Linked DNA regions of Homo sapiens: all the other regions are linked to region 1. The links are contacts of gene promoters, found by promoter capture Hi-C in human tissues and cell types (Jung and others, 2019). All regions are on one chromosome and are shown on one strand. The core of a region is centred on a gene start or on the middle of the fragment in contact, and the rest is flanking DNA. Distances in the headings are between cores, read along the strand shown.

What was found. Contacts are between HindIII fragments. The study calls those that stand out against the background at their distance.
Region 2: the fragment with the promoter of TBATA here is called in contact with the fragment with the promoter of ADAMTS14 in region 1 in 6 of the 25 tissues and cell types used here (heart left ventricle, liver, mesenchymal stem cells and 3 more).
Region 3: a contact is called between a fragment that was not itself captured here and the fragment with the promoter of ADAMTS14 in region 1, in 5 of the 25 tissues and cell types used here (IMR-90 fibroblasts, heart left ventricle, liver and 2 more).
Region 4: a contact is called between a fragment that was not itself captured here and the fragment with the promoter of ADAMTS14 in region 1, in 7 of the 25 tissues and cell types used here (IMR-90 fibroblasts, aorta, dorsolateral prefrontal cortex and 4 more).

Annotation. Positions count from the first base shown.
Region 1 is chr10:70,670,542-70,674,264 of GRCh38, forward strand. ADAMTS14 (ADAM metallopeptidase with thrombospondin type 1 motif 14) reads left to right here and starts at 1,965. Exons shown (of 22, transcript NM_080722.4): 1 at 1,965-2,343. The coding sequence starts at 2,262. RefSeq lists a silencer at 552-846. The HindIII fragment of the contact is 21,684 bases long and covers 1-3,723 here.
Region 2 is chr10:70,783,500-70,787,222 of GRCh38, forward strand. TBATA (thymus, brain and testes associated) reads right to left here and starts at 1,878. Exons shown (of 11, transcript NM_001318241.2): 1 at 1,786-1,878; 2 at 1,148-1,274; 3 at 1-26. The HindIII fragment of the contact is 18,774 bases long and covers 1-3,723 here.
Region 3 is chr10:70,761,416-70,765,138 of GRCh38, forward strand. It overlaps ADAMTS14 (ADAM metallopeptidase with thrombospondin type 1 motif 14), which reads left to right. Exons shown (of 22, transcript NM_080722.4): 22 at 1-1,026. Among named protein-coding and RNA genes, the nearest start is that of TBATA, 22 kb to the right of the region's middle. RefSeq lists an enhancer at 371-1,140. The HindIII fragment of the contact is 6,281 bases long and covers 1-3,723 here.
Region 4 is chr10:70,590,140-70,593,862 of GRCh38, forward strand. No RefSeq gene overlaps it. Among named protein-coding and RNA genes, the nearest start is that of PRF1, 11 kb to the right of the region's middle. The HindIII fragment of the contact is 5,825 bases long and covers 1-3,723 here.

The DNA of each region.
Region 1 (3,723 bases), core at 715-3,214:
CCTAACAAAGCCTTCCTCCATGGAAGAGAGCTTGGACACACAATACTTGCCGATAAAAGCAATCATTGTAGCCCCAGGGAAGGGGGCGGGGGTAAAGAAACGGGGAGAGGTTTTGCTCTCTGCTTGCCAAGGCTGGCTCCAGGGAAGGCCGCAGCCCACTCCAGCGAAGCAGGCTGCTGGGGCCCCAGCTGTGACCTGCTCCTCTTGACTTGCTTTCCTTGAGGCAGGAACAAGGGGGTGGAATGGAGCTGGGGCCCCTGAGTTTTCTAGGGGAGTCTTTCTGAGATGGCCCCACAGCAGAAAAGGGGCAATCCTTACGCCATGACTTTTTCCTTCTGTCCCGCAGGGTTCCCACTCTGCAGCTTGGAAAACTGAGACCCTGAGAAGGGAAGCCATTTTATCCAGAGATCATTTGGTGGGCTTGGGTTTGCAGAGGGCCAGAGCTGTGAAGCTCCAGCCTGGTCATCTCCCAGCCTTCTCTCTCTCTCTCTCTTTCTCTCTCTCTCTCTTTCTCTCTCTCTCTTTCCTATCTCTCTCTCTCTTTCCTCTCTCTCTCTCTCTCTCTCTCACACACACACACACACACACACACACACACACACACACCCTCTAACTTTCTTGCTCTGTCATCCCTCACACACAGAATCCTGTCTGGACCTTGACTTTGCACATCATTTTTTTTTTTTTTTGAGACAGGGTATTGCTCTGTCACCCAGGCTGGGTACAGTGGTGTGAGCTGAAGCTCAGCTCACTGCAGCTTCAGCCTCTCAGGCTAAAGCAACCCTTCCGCCTCAGCCTCCCAAAGTGTTGGGACTATAGGCGTGAGCCACTGCACGCAGCCAACACACATCTTAAAAGACCAGAAAGAGGAGAAAGAGGAACTCTATTCTTCCTGAATTTAATATAGATCAATTTGGTTGTGGCATTTCCAAATAACTGGATGCTCTGATGTAGCTTGGAATGCTTGGAATATAATATACTTTAGCTTTCTGAACCTGCTTCTTAAATGCACTGGTCCTCCAAAACCTTGGCATCATTTCCAAGATTCTTTATTCCATGGTTATTACAAAAAAATCTCCTTTCCACAACTCCCACCCCTGGATTGCTTGAAATATAGTTTATTTGCAAGTTATTAGTTACATATTTACAGAGTAAAGCAAGAGCATGGATCTTCTGTTGGGTTGTTTGTACTGACTCCTGACCTGGTCTCAACACCATTGCAAGACTAGCATCAAGTGCTCATCTCTCAGACTCTTGGTTCTTTCCACCTTGGGATGCCACAGTTGCTACTGGTGTCAGGGATGGAAGTGGAGGGCAGTTATCACTTATTGAGCATCTATTATGTGCTGTAGTTAACACCCATTTCACAGATAAGACAACTGAGGCTCAGAGCTAGGATTTCAATCAGGGCTGTCTGACTCTGAAGCCAGGGCTCTCTCCTCACCGGCTCAGCCCTGCTCTTGGCTAGGACACAGGTCAGTCGTGCACCCTGGGCTGGAGTCTGGAAAATGGGTAGATCCAAGGGGTCGATGGTTAGTGAGGGCATCAAGACCATAGTGAAAGAAAGAGGGAGTCTCCCTCTACCGGGAGGTTCACTGTCCACCACACTCCCAAATGCAGCCGGACACCCCTTGGGCTCCTGGCTCTGGAACAGAAACAGAGAGCAGGCCCTGCGGCCAAGAAAGGGGGCGGAGCAGCCATAGAAAGCGGCTTTGGGCCACCACTCCGGGGATCCCAGGCGTCTGAGGGGACAATCGGTCCGTGCGCCAGGAACCCCTGCTCTGTCTCCGCGTGGCACTTCCGATCCCCGGCCGCAGGCAGCTGCACTCCCCAGCCGCGCGCCCCGCCCCCGGGCGCCCGGCGCCCCAGCTCCGACCCGCGCCCGGCCCCGCCCCGCCCAGTGTGCCCACCCCCGGCCCGTCCCGCCGCCCCGTCGCCCGGCTCCCGCGGAGTCCCGGAGCGTCACTGCGCGGGCGGGCTGACCGACCAGCCGGCAGTTGGCACCGGGTGCGCTGGCGCGTCAGTGGCCCCGCTCTCCAGCCGGCAGCCTCGCGCGCCCGGAGCCAGCGGTCCAGGCGGCGGCGCCGCGCAGGGGACCCGGAGCAGGCGGGAGGGAAGCAGCTAGGCGGGGAGGCGGCTGAGGCGGCAGCGGCGGCAGCCAGCCGGTGCTCCGACAGCCCGGGGCGCACCCTAGCCTCGCCGCCCTCAGCCTGGGACTTGGGGATCGGGCGCTTGCCCAGCCCGCGTCCCAGCGCGGCCACATGGCTCCACTCCGCGCGCTGCTGTCCTACCTGCTGCCTTTGCACTGTGCGCTCTGCGCCGCCGCGGGCAGCCGGACCCCAGGTGCGTGCGGGTTGGGCGCGCGGGGGCCCGTGGGGTCCGGGGTGCACGCGGTCAGGGTGGCCCAAGGTTGCCCCAGCCACCCGGGCAGGGTTCCCGCGGGTGGGAGGCAGTATGCACACTCTGGGCTGATTTGCTGTCTTTTCTTCCACTGTGCCACGGCACTGTCCCGTGATTTCTCTCCCTTTCTGGTACTAGAAGTAGACAGAGACCCCAGGAGAGAATTTGGGAGCATCGAGTCTCTTCTCGGGAGCAGCGCATCTGTCTCTTTGTCTCTCTGTGTTTCTTCTTTCCCCTCTTCCCCAATCTGTTTCTCTGTCCTGTGTGTCTTTCTCTTTCAATGTCTTTTCTGTCTCCAACTTGTGTGAGCATGGGTGCAAGGGGTGTGTGTGTGTGTGTGTCTGTGTGTGGCTGTTACATACCCAGCATAAGGCTAACAGGTGATTGCCTCCTACAGCAGAGCATGCGGGGCACTCACGCTCCTGCACAGAAACACACATCCTTCCACTGCCCCCAACGTAGCACTGTCAAACGCTGTGGACACAGGTCTCTTGCATACAGACCAGATACACTCCACTCCCGCCCTGCAGCATGGGGTACCCTCCTGGTGGCTCTGAACATGGGGAGGAGTCACCGGTCATTTCCAGGCAGGGTCCCTCCTTGTTTGTGAGCCTTGTTCATGTGCCAGAGTGGGTCCCCTCTTGCAGCAGTCTTAGGGGTCCTCTGCTATAATGGGGATGAAACTAGAGCTGTGGGCATGGGGGATTTTCAGGAAACACCACTTTCTATGTTTCATCAGTGACGTGAACTGGGGAGACGAGAGGTAGAGCTGTGTGGAAATGAAAATTCCTCCCAAACTCGCATTCATGAATCACCAGGCCTGGAAGCCAGGGAGCTGTCATTCCTGCCCAGCCTGGCTGGGCTCAAGGAGAGCTGCGTGAGGATGGGCCTGCTGGCATGTGGCCTGGAGCATGGGGCCATGACCTCACAGTTAATTCAGCCCAAGTGGGCAGGTCACCCCCTGTATATCCTTTTATTTTTGAAGATCTATATTTATCCAGCTTGGGGCTCGGCCATACAGAGATCTCAGCGGCCACTGTCCTCCTGTAAAAAGTTTTCTTTCTAACCTTGGAAAAATAGAGAACCGCTCCCCTCTGCAGCCCCACCTTCTCCTTGACACGTGCCCATGGTCCCCTGGGTTTCTAGGTGTGTTTGTTTTGCCAGCTGCGTTCTTGGAAGTTTGGGGAGGAGGGCACTACCCCAGCCTGGGCTGGTGACTTCAGCACACTGGGGAGTTTGGGCAGATCTGCCCTTCCCTTTATTTGCCCTGTTGGCTTTTGGGGAATTTTAGTCCTTTTCTGGGCAGAGCCCAAGGTCGGAAGT
Region 2 (3,723 bases), core at 628-3,127, 110 kb after region 1:
GGTGGAAGTGTAAACGGGAACAGGCACTTTAGGGGGAGAAATGGTAATATCTTTTAAAATTGAGCATTTGCATGCTGTATCACCCAGCAATTTCTTTCCCAGATATAAGAGAAATTCTTATAGATGTACAACAGGGGCTACTTATAAGAATATTCATACAAACACTGTTCAAAATAGCAAAAACCTGGTGGCAACCCAAATGTCTGATGGCAGAAGAATGGATAAATAAGCTGTGGTGCATTCAGACAATGGGATACTTTATTGCTATGAAAATAAATGAGCCACAGCTACATGTAACAACATGGATGAATCTTATAATCAGTATGAGAAAACTTAACAATTCTTGGTTTTGCGATGTTATATTTATGCAATCTTATTAACTCAATTTACTTTTTATTAATTACTATTAAATAGGCTGCAGTAGAACAAGATATATGCATTTGAAACAATACAATTGTTGTCATCCACTATATATAATGTGTGGATAATATAAAATAACTACTAAACAGTATAAATGTTGTTTAAAAACATATTATTTTTCTTTCATAAATGGTTTAGTTTATGTGTGTTCCAGAGGACCACAAGTTCCAGAGGACCACATAGCCTGAGATCCTTTCTAAAAATAAAAGTTTAAAAGCAAGCAAAATGATCATGAACATGCGATAAAACAGCAACAACAGCATCAAACAAGGAAATGCTAAGCACGAAATTCACATAGTGGCTATTTCCGAGGGAAGGCGGGGAGGGGAAGTGTGCAGGAGAAGCGCATATAAGGAGATGTGTTAGTGATGATGTTCTTGTTCTTGGTTTGGGTGGTGTATTTGCTTGTGTTTATTATATTATTAAATAAACTAATTAAATGGCATAGATGAAAGATGATAGGTGTCAAAACCAAGAATTATGATTAAATCTATGGACCTGAATATATATATCTAGCCAAAGTGCTAGGGATGGGGTTGGGACAGGACATCAGTGCATTCTGAGAATTAACCCTCAGAGTCACAGAATCTGCAAGGGACCCCAGAGATCTCCCAATGCCAGCCTTCATCAGGTAGTGGGATGGGTTGGAGTTGTCTGAGATCAGGGAAGCAGGGGAGATTTGCTGAGGTCACACAGAAGGAACCAGAGCCCGGGCAGTCTGACTCACAGTTTGCTGATCTTTTCTTTCCTTAAAAGGAAGCTCCAGACATCCTTGATGTCAGGTACTGGGCTCTAGAGTACTGAGATGCTACAATCTTGAGAACAGGATATGTGGAAGCCCCAAATCCTCCTGCCTATGGGAAAAAGTACTCTTTAGAACAGAGACTTGCAAATGTGTTTGGCTGTGATGACGGTAAGAAATTCTTTATGTCATGATCCAATTCACATATGGGTTTGTGTGTGTGTGTGAAACTAAAACAATAATATCCTGAAGCAATATTTATCCGTACTACATATGATGCACACTGATATTTTTACCCTATTTTTGGTTTTTATTTCTTAAATGTTAGATATGATCCATTTAAATTGATCTAATAAGCCACCAGGGGGTCATAACCCACAGCGGCTGTAGAGAGGCTGACAGGGACTCTAGTAGGCCAAGCCTGCCTTGTCCAGAGCGGGACAGGTGGGACCCCAGTGTAGTCTGCCCTGCCCTGCCCCTGCTCTCTGTCCCTGGGGCCCCAGCCAGCCAGGCAGAGGGGTCTGAGGGCTCCCATCAATCCAGCCACAAAACTTCCCTTTCTACCTCTGCCCTTCTGGGCTGTCCAGGGTCCATCTCCTCTCCCGAGAGGTCCCTGGACTCACCAAGGCAGTGCCCGCTACAGCATGTGTACGAGAAGCCCTGCTGTCCTAGCAGGAAGGAGCAAGAGGACAAATCGAGGGGAAGGCTGTGGGTTCTGTGGGCAAGTCTGCCTGCTTTGTGACACTGAGCCCAGTGGTTGCTAGGTTACCCTGTTCCCACAACTCCAGAACCTCTGCCCAGCACCCCTCTACCACATCCCCTGCCTATCTCCCCCTCCTGGAAGGGTAGACAAGGGCTAAGGACCTTCTGTCCCTCCTGACTTCCCTGCTGCCTCCCATCCAACACTTTCAATGGGGGCCAAGGGAGAGAAGGAGAGTCTGGGGCTGGTTTTAGCCAGAGAGAAGCGGATGGAGGCGGAACGCTGGCAGAGGACGTTGGTGGGCTGCGTCCCAGCTTCGTCAGCCCCACCTGGCCTGACCCCACCACACAGGGGTCGGCTTCCATGCATCTTGGTTCTGGGGACCCATTCTCAGGGAGGTGGGTCTTGGAAGGAGAGAAGATGGCAGCCCGCATTACCCAGAGGGACCCCAGCCCCTCTCTCTGCATGACAGCTGGGTGGGAAGATTCTGGGCTTGCATTTGGACAGGTGTTTTAATCAGATTTCAACATCCCATAGACACGTTACCTTGGGTAAGTCACCGGGACTGCCACAGATGCAAAATAGTGGGAAGAATCCTTGCTTCGAGTCCCTATTCTGCTACTTCCTAGTTGTGTGGCCTCAGACAATGCACCTGCCTTCTCTGAGCCTTAGTTCCCATATCTCTAAAATGGAGATGATGATACTGCACTTATTCTCACAGGATGTTTGAGAATATTAAGTGAGTTGATATATATTAAAGCGTTTCAAACAGTATCTGCCCCCAAGTATAATTTCTTACTATTATTGCCTTCTCTGGGTCTATAAAATGGGATATCCTCACCTACTTCTGTGGTTGTTCTGAAGACAAGCTAATGGAAGTGAAGCCTTTAGTTGTATGTCTGGCACACAAGAGATGCTCAAAAAGGATAATAATCATCATTATTATTGGTAACTTGATGGAGGTAGTAGGATGAGTCCTTTGTCTGAGAACTATCTTAGGTAGTTCACTATTTCTCTGAGGCTCAACTTGGACACCTGTCAAATGGGGGTAAGGATAGTTCTTAGCCGACAGGGCTGTAACTCAATCAGATCCCGGGAGGGGTGCAGACAGGCTCTGTAAACTATGGGAAGGCTTGCAGACAGTGCCGGGTGCTGTCCCTCAGAATGATGAGGTGGGCTTTTCCCAGGGCCTTTGCTCTCAGCACCCCTGGCTTCATACTGGTGCCCTGGGGCTTCCAGACTCTGTGTCTTTTCTCTGGGGAGCAAGAAAAGGAAGGTGGGTAGCTAGAGGCAAACCCAAGTCCTTCAAAAGTTCTGCCCCTCCCAGCTAAGGGGTGGGGATTCATACCACTCTGGTGGCCCCCTGAGGGCTGTCCTCTGGTCTTGGCCTACTCCAAATGCCCACCCATCCTTCGGCAGGTCAGGATGTTCCCTGGCTTTTTCTGGGCCTGTCTCTGCAGGAATACGGTGACTCTTTTGAAATCATACTGAAAACCCCCTCTTCCATACTTCTGGGCATCCTGGCAGCTGTGAAGATAGATGATATAGCATTTGGGAGAAGAGAGGCTTTCTTCCCCGTGACAAGCCACTCCTCCCTCCTGCTTTCAGCACTCTTGTGGCATTTCCCACCACGCGAGCTGACTCAGCTGAGATGAAAACCCACTCTCATCCTCCCCACTGGTGCCTTGTAATGCTTCAACTATGTTATTTACAATCGAGCATGGGGGTCTGCATAGGGACTGCAGCTGGGGGGATGAAGGGGTTCCTCAGGAAATGTCTTCAACACTGGTTTGTAAAAGAAGAACTGAGGAAACTCTTCTGACTCCTTTGTGGAGTGTCAAAAACTGTAGAGAGATCTGTC
Region 3 (3,723 bases), core at 637-3,136, 91 kb after region 1:
TCCTGGAAGCCAAGAGCTCCATGCAGTTCCACCAGCTGAGGCCAGGCAGCAGAGGCCAGTTTGTCTTTGCTGGCCAGAAGATGGTGCTCATGGCCATACTCTGGCCTTGCAGATGTCACTAGTGTTACTTCTAGTGACTCCAGATTACAGACTGGCCCCCCAATCTCACCCCAGCCCACCAGAGAAGGGGGCTCAGGACACCCTGGACCCCAAGTCCTCAGCATCCAGGGATTTCCAAACTGGCGCTCACTCCCTGACTCCACCAGGATGGCAACTTCAATTATCACTCTCAGCCTGGAAGGGGACTCTGTGGGACACAGAGGGAACACGATTTCTCAGGCTGTCCCTTCAATCATTGCCCTTCTCCGAAGATCGCTCCTGCTGGAGTCGGACATCTTCATCTTCTACCTGGCTCAAGCTGGGCCAGAGTGTGTGGTTCTCCCAGGGGTGGTTGGACCCCAGGACTGAGGACCAGAGTCCACTCATAGCCTGGCCCTGGAGATGACAAGGGCCACCCAGGCCAAGTGCCCCAGGGCAGGGTGCCAGCCCCTGGCCTGGTGCTGGAGTGGGGAAGACACACTCACCCACGGTGCTGTAAGGGCCTGAGCTGTGCTCAGCTGCCGGCCATGCTACCTCCAAGGGACAGGTAACAGTCTTAGATCCTCTGGCTCTCAGGAAGTGGCAGGGGGTCCCAGGACACCTCCGGGGTCTTGGAGGATGTCTCCTAAACTCCTGCCAGGTGATAGAGGTGCTTCTCACTTCTTCCTTCCCCAAGGCAAAGGGGCTGTTCTGAGCCAGCCTGGAGGAACATGAGTAGTGGGCCCCTGGCCTGCAACCCCTTTGGAGAGTGGAGGTCCTGGGGGGCTCCCCGCCCTCCCCCTGTTGCCCTCCCCTCCCTGGGATGCTGGGGCACACGCGGAGTCATTCCTGTGAGAACCAGCCTGGCCTGTGTTAAACTCTTGTGCCTTGGAAATCCAGATCTTTAAAATTTTATGTATTTATTAACATCGCCATTGGACCCCAAAAGGTTGTGTGTGTGTTTCTTTTTCTCTCTCTGATTTATGGGAAGGGGACAATGAAGCCAGAGCTCGAAGGTTGAGGGCTGGGCTGTAGCAAGAGAACTGGGGGTGGGGGCGCAGCTCACTGTGGCTGTCTCCTGTCCCTCCACCTTTCCACCCATGCCCTGCTGCGTCACTGCCAGGTGGGACACAGGGTTGCCACTGGTTTCTTGGCTACTGAATCTCCTGTTTCCCTGAGGCCCAAGTTCCAGGACAACACTTTATTTCAGGTTATTGTGAAATTCTCAACCTGTTTAAATGCAACTAGAGGCCAGTGGGGCAGAGTGGCTCATGCCTGTAATCCCAGCACTTTTGGAGGTGGGAGTTCCAGACCAGCCTGAGCAACATAGCAAGATCCCGTCTCAACAAAAAATAAAAAGAACATTAGCCAGGCGTGGTGTTGCACGCCTGTGGTCTCAGCTATTTAGGAGGTGGAAGTGAGAGGATCCCTTGAGCCCAGGAGTTTGAGGCCACACTGAGCTGTGATTGCGCCATGGCACTCCAGCCTGGGTGACAGAGCATGACCCTGTCTCAAAAACAAAAAAGAACAACAAGAGGGGCTCTCTAAAGGAATCTTAGCAACCACAGAACAAAGAGACTGTCACTGAAAGCAAAATGACTGCAACCACTTTTGCCTTCTAAGCAGTGGCAGAATTTGTGTCATGGAGTAAAAGAATCTACACTGCTGGGCACTTAGAAAAGGTGAAGCTGGCAAAAGGGCTTCTTGTCATTGTGCAGAGCTCACTCCTCCCCTTAAGGCCGAGGAGAAAATGGTTTGGAGACTCCTACCCCCGTGGGGGTGGGAACACAGAGAGGGCAGCCTCTCCATCTGTCTTTGGCTGGGGGCTTTTTAGGATGCAGGTTGTCTAATATGTCTAAGGTTCAATTAAATTTCTGTTGCCATCTCCCCAAACATCTGGAAATGTCCACTCTCCAAATTGAGGGCTTTTTATGGGTCAGGATTTTTGCTTGTTTTGGTGGAAACTGAGAAAATGAAAGGATTCACGGGTGAAGATAGAGGAACAGCACCAAGGGCCCTCTTTCCATCGCAGCCTCAGAAACATCCCTCACTTCCTGTAGGAGCCCAGTGGGAAAGGCCATATGGGAATGGTCTCACCTCTTCCTGCCCTAAACGGTTTCCTGTTTGGAGTCTGGTGGGTGCAGGTGCCAGGGTGCCAGATTGCCTGTCTCTTCCCTGGAGGGGATTCTCCAGGCCACTCTGACTTCAAGGCTTTATCCACACCTGCCCCATGCTTGGCAGAGCCCTGCCGCAGTGACAGCCAGGTGCCCAGAGTCTAGCCTATCAGCCCCGACTGGCTTCCAGAGCCTTTGCCCTGGTCTGCCAAGCTTCCTCAACCCATAGCCAGGGGCCAGCACACCTGTCATTTTGGAGGAAGCCCCCTGAAGTTCCAGCATCTCCTTGCCCTTGGGGTCAGTAGGGACAGTGCTGCACAGAGTCACCCTTAGCCTCCTGTTCAAAGAGCCTGGGAAGTCCTCACCATGGCTGTCTTCTGTGTCCAGATGGCCTCCTTGAGGTTCCAGCCTGTGACTTCATTTGGGCTAGTAAGGCCTGAAAGCTCCTGGTGGAGAAGGGATCGGGGGGATGGCAAGGGTTTAGGGACAGCAGGAGACTTACCTTCCCATTCCTCCAGAGGAGAAAAGGGGCAATTGGAGCCTCATCATGTTCCTGGGCAATAGACTGGCCTCTGGGCCCTTTTTTGATTTACCCTCCTGGTGAAACTCCAGGCCTTCCACCTGAAATGACACAGCAGGCAGGGGAAGAGGGGAAGGCACAGAGCCTGGGCCATCTGACCTGGAACTCTGTGGGCTCTTCCAAAGAGCCCCTGCTCCCTACCTGGCTTCAGGAGACTGAAGGCTTGGGGGAAGGTAGGGGTCTGGGGGGAGGAGGGAAAGAGCAAGAAGGGGTGGAAATGTAGCTGGGGCAGTCCCAGGGACCCAGCTGCCACAGATTAGAAATCTCTGGGGCCTACACCACAAATCTTCTCCTTTAAAAAATTATGCAAGAAATATATGCTCATTATTGAAAAATTTTACAACCTGAGGAAAAAAAATCTATAATTCTACTTAGCAATAACCACTGTTAATAATTTAGTTATCCATTCCAGATGTGTGCATGTGCAAGATTGTTTGTGTCTGTACACACACACATGCACGCTGGGTGAGTATTATTAATACTATACACATACACGTCATCTGGGATCTTCTCCCCCTCCTACTCCACCTACAGCAATACAATAAGAACACGTTTCCATCCTGAGCTACGTTGAACTACGTATTTTTTTTTTTTTGACAGAGTTTCGTTCTTGTTGCCCAGGCTGGAGTGCAATGGTGCGATCTCGGCTCACTGCAACCTCTGCCTCCCAGGTTCAAGTGATTCTCCTGCCTCAGCCTCCCGAGTAGCTGGGATTACAGGCATGCACCGCCACTCCTGGCTAATTTTGGATTTTTAGTAAAGATGGGGTTTCTCCATGTTGGTTAGGCTGGTCTTGAACTCCCAACCTCAGGTGATCTGCCTGCCTCAGCCTCCCAAAGTGCTGGGATTATAGGCATGAGCCACCGTGCCCAGCCACGTCTTCATTTTTAATGACTGCACAGTACCCCACGGTATGGCTAGATGACCATTTATTTAACCAAATCCCCCAGT
Region 4 (3,723 bases), core at 649-3,148, 80 kb before region 1:
TGTTGTTCATGAGATGTACCCATTGTGCAGACTGGTGAGGGCGGGGCTGCTGGGTCCACCTGTTACCGGACAGGGGTCCCATTCCAGACCCCAACAGAGGGTTCTTGGATCTCATGCAAGAAAGAATTTGAGGTGAATCCATAAAGTGAAAGCAAGCTTAGAAGTAAAGAAACAAAAGAATGGCTACTCCATAAGCAGAGCAGTCCCAAGGGCTGCTTGTTGGCTATTTTTGTGGTTATTTCTTGATTAAATGCTGAATACGGGTGGATTATTCATGAGTTTTCTGGGAAAGGTGCAGGCAATTCCTGGATCTGAGGGTTCTTCCCCCTTTTAGACCATATAGGGTAACTTCCTGACATTGCCATGACATTTGTAAACTGTCATGGCGCTGGTGGGAGTGTCTTTTAGCATGATAATGCATTATAATTAGCATATAATGAGCAGTGAGGAAGACCAGAGGTCACTTTCATTACCATCTTGGTTTTGATGGGTTTGGCTAGCTTCTTTACCACAACCTGTCCTGTCAGCAGGGTCTTTGTGACCTGTTTCTTGTGCTGACCTCCTATCTCATCCTGTGACTTAGAATGCCTAACCTCCTAGGAAAGCAGCCCAGTAGGTCTCAGCCTCATTTTACCCAGGCCCTATTCAAGATGGAGTCGCTCTGGTTCAAACACCTCTGACACACCAGGCCATGCCACTGAGTGTCAGAGACTGAACAGCTTGTGGGATCAGGGCTGAGACTCTCCATGCTGAAAGCTGCAAATAAATCACGGTTCCAGCCCCCTCATTTGCAGCTGGGGACTCAAGTCTGGAGGGGGAGTTTTATGTGCTTGCAATGTACAAGAGAACTGATTGAGGTTGGGAATCTGTCTTGGACCAAAGTCGAAATTCATATGATTGGACTGGTTTCTGTGACTGGGTCTCCAGTGTGTGGCTGGGTCTTTTCAATGTGGCTTAGGTTGGATGTCAGTCCTTGGCTCCTCTCCAGGATCCTGTCTGTGACTGAGACTATCTCTGTGCATCACTAACTCTAACCTCCCCCTGAGAATCTCACCTGTGACCTTGGTCTCAACTGCACCAGTCACATCCTCCTGTCCTCAACGGTGAAAACCTGGCAGATGCTCAGCCTGCCCCTGCCCCAGGAGTGCTGTGGTCAGCTGAGCTGTGGAAGTCGAGGCTGGAAAGGACCTCATCAGCCAGTGGAGGGGAGGGGAAGGGAGGAGATCCTGTGAGCAGGCTAAGGTGGTAGACCTTGCCCCTCTGTGGCCAGAACCTGCCCAGGCCAAGTGGGCATCAGCTTTGCCCAGAGAAACAGCTGCCCTAGCTGCAACTGACCCCAGTTGGTGATGAGGTCTATTGAGGAACAAAGAATCAAGAGCAAACAACCAAGAGCATCCATCCCTCCCAGAAGGGGGTCTCACTTCTGTTGTCAGCTACAGAGAAGAGAGGCGGCTGGCCCAGCTCCACCTCCACCTTCTCCTGGGCAGTGTCTGGCCCTTCCATGGCTCCTTCACGGAAGGAGAGTGAGGGGAAGCTGCTGCATGGACTGGAATCAGCCCAGTGGTCCTTCTGCCTAACCACATTGAAGACAGGGCCAGTGATTTATGTATGTATGTATGTATGTATGTATGTATGTATGTATGTATGTATGTATTTTTAGAGACTGGGTCTCACTCTGTTGCCAGGCTGGAGTGCAGTGGCATGACCATAGCTCACTGCAGTCTTGACCTCCTGGGCTCAAGTGATCCTCCTGCCTTAGCCTCCCAAATAGCTAGGACTAACACGGTTGGCTAAAACCAAAGCTTTAAATATATAGAATCCTTGAGCCACAACCAGGAGTGGATGCTAGGCTTCTGTGGTAGGTAGCCTACTGTGTAGGCTCCTATGTAGGAGGTACGTCTCTGTGTAACATGAGAGCTCATGGTTAGAACCTTCTAAATGTGGGACAGTTACCTTAGGAGGTAATGAGCTGTCTGTCTCTGGGGGAGTTCAAGCAGAGGCTGGAAAATTCCTTGGTGGGGTTCATTCATCCACTCATTCATCTTCCATCTACTCATCCATCCAATATTTTTCACTTATCAAATTTATGCCAGGTGCTGGACTAGTTGATTCAACCATGAATAAGATAGAAATGGCTTGTGGCTTCACAGTGCTATGATGGGGAAACGCTGGGGACTACAGAAGCAGGGTAGAGGGCGGCATGACCTAGACCTGGCAGTCAGGGAAGGCTTCCTGGAGTAAGTGATCTTTGAAGCTAAAGGCTGAAGGTTGAGAAGGACTTAGCTGCAAGGAGTCAATAGAGTGTGAGCCAGTCAATGACACAGTCAGATGTGTGTCTTAGCTGGTTTCCTCAGAGGCAGACCCTGAGGCAGGGATCCAAGGGTGTATGGTTTCCACTGGGGGGTGACTCCAGAAAATACCAGTGAGGGGGTGTGGTAGTGAGACAGGAAAGGGAGGCAGCCAAGAAGGTGTATGTGGTCAAGCAAGTCACCTCTGTGTGCAAATGGAGCTTCCACCTGCTGTAGAACTCTGGGAGCCAGTGTGGCATATGTCCTGCAGTTATTCCCTGGACAGGGAGTGAGCTGGGGTATTTGTATACCAACTTTCCTCAGCCACTGGTTGTGGGTTTTTCTGGACTGAGTGGGACATGGACACTATTCTCAAATAATTCTGGCCTCCTGATGGGGCAGGCAGAGTGGGCCCCAGCACAGGCCTTAGACAGAGGTGCAGGGGCTGGTGGTTGTGGTGGGGTCTGAGGGGATCTGCGCAGGGTGCTGGCATCACCGTGGCTGCAGGGTGAGTGAGGGGCATGCACGAGCCCTGAGATCAGTGAGAAGGCCAAAGGCGGAGTGGGCCAAGCAAGAGATACTGGCGACCAAGAGAGGCTGTGGTTATGAGGAAGCGACAGATGTCAGGATGTGGAGCGGCGTGGAGGAATGGAGATGCTGGTGAGCAAGAGGAACCACAGTCTCCCAAGGCTGCAGCAGCCCCCTCACCACAAGGAACTCCCTCGCTCCCTCACCCCTACACCACCTCCCCCTCCAGCAGGCATCTCCTCCGTCCAAACACATCAGGGACGCCAGGCTCACTGCCAGCTTGTCAGGACCACGAAGGTGTATATGGAGGGAGATGATGGTGCTGTGGCAACTGCTTAAAAAACAAAAGCTGGGGCTGGCTCACGCCTGTGATCCCAGCACTTTGGGAGGCCAAGGTGGGAGGATCGCTTGAGGCCAGGAGTTTGAGACCAGCCGGGGCAACGTGGAGAGATCCTGACTCTGCAAAACATTAAAAAATTAGTCAGGCATGGTGGTGCATGCCAGCTACTCAGGAGGCTGAGGTGGGAGGATCACTTTAGCCCAGGAGTCAAGGCTGCACTGAGCTATGATTGTGCCGCTGTGCTCCAGCCTGGGCAATAGAGCAAGACCTTGTCTCTAAAAAAACAAAAAACCTGGGTTGTTGTCAATGCCAGCCCCAAGTCTTGGAAGAGACCCCTTGGACTGTGTGCGCATATGAAAATGAATGTCATCCTGACTACCTGTAGCTTCCAGTGTGCCCACGTCTGTCTTCCTGTTGGATGCAGCCCTCAAGGGGACAGGCGCTCAGCATGACTTTCTGTCCTTGGGGGCCCCAGGACCTGGATCATAGAAGGCACTCAGTAACAATCCGTCAGGTGATGGAGAACGTGAATGGACCCCGGCTTCTGTGCTTCCTGCCATTGGGAGG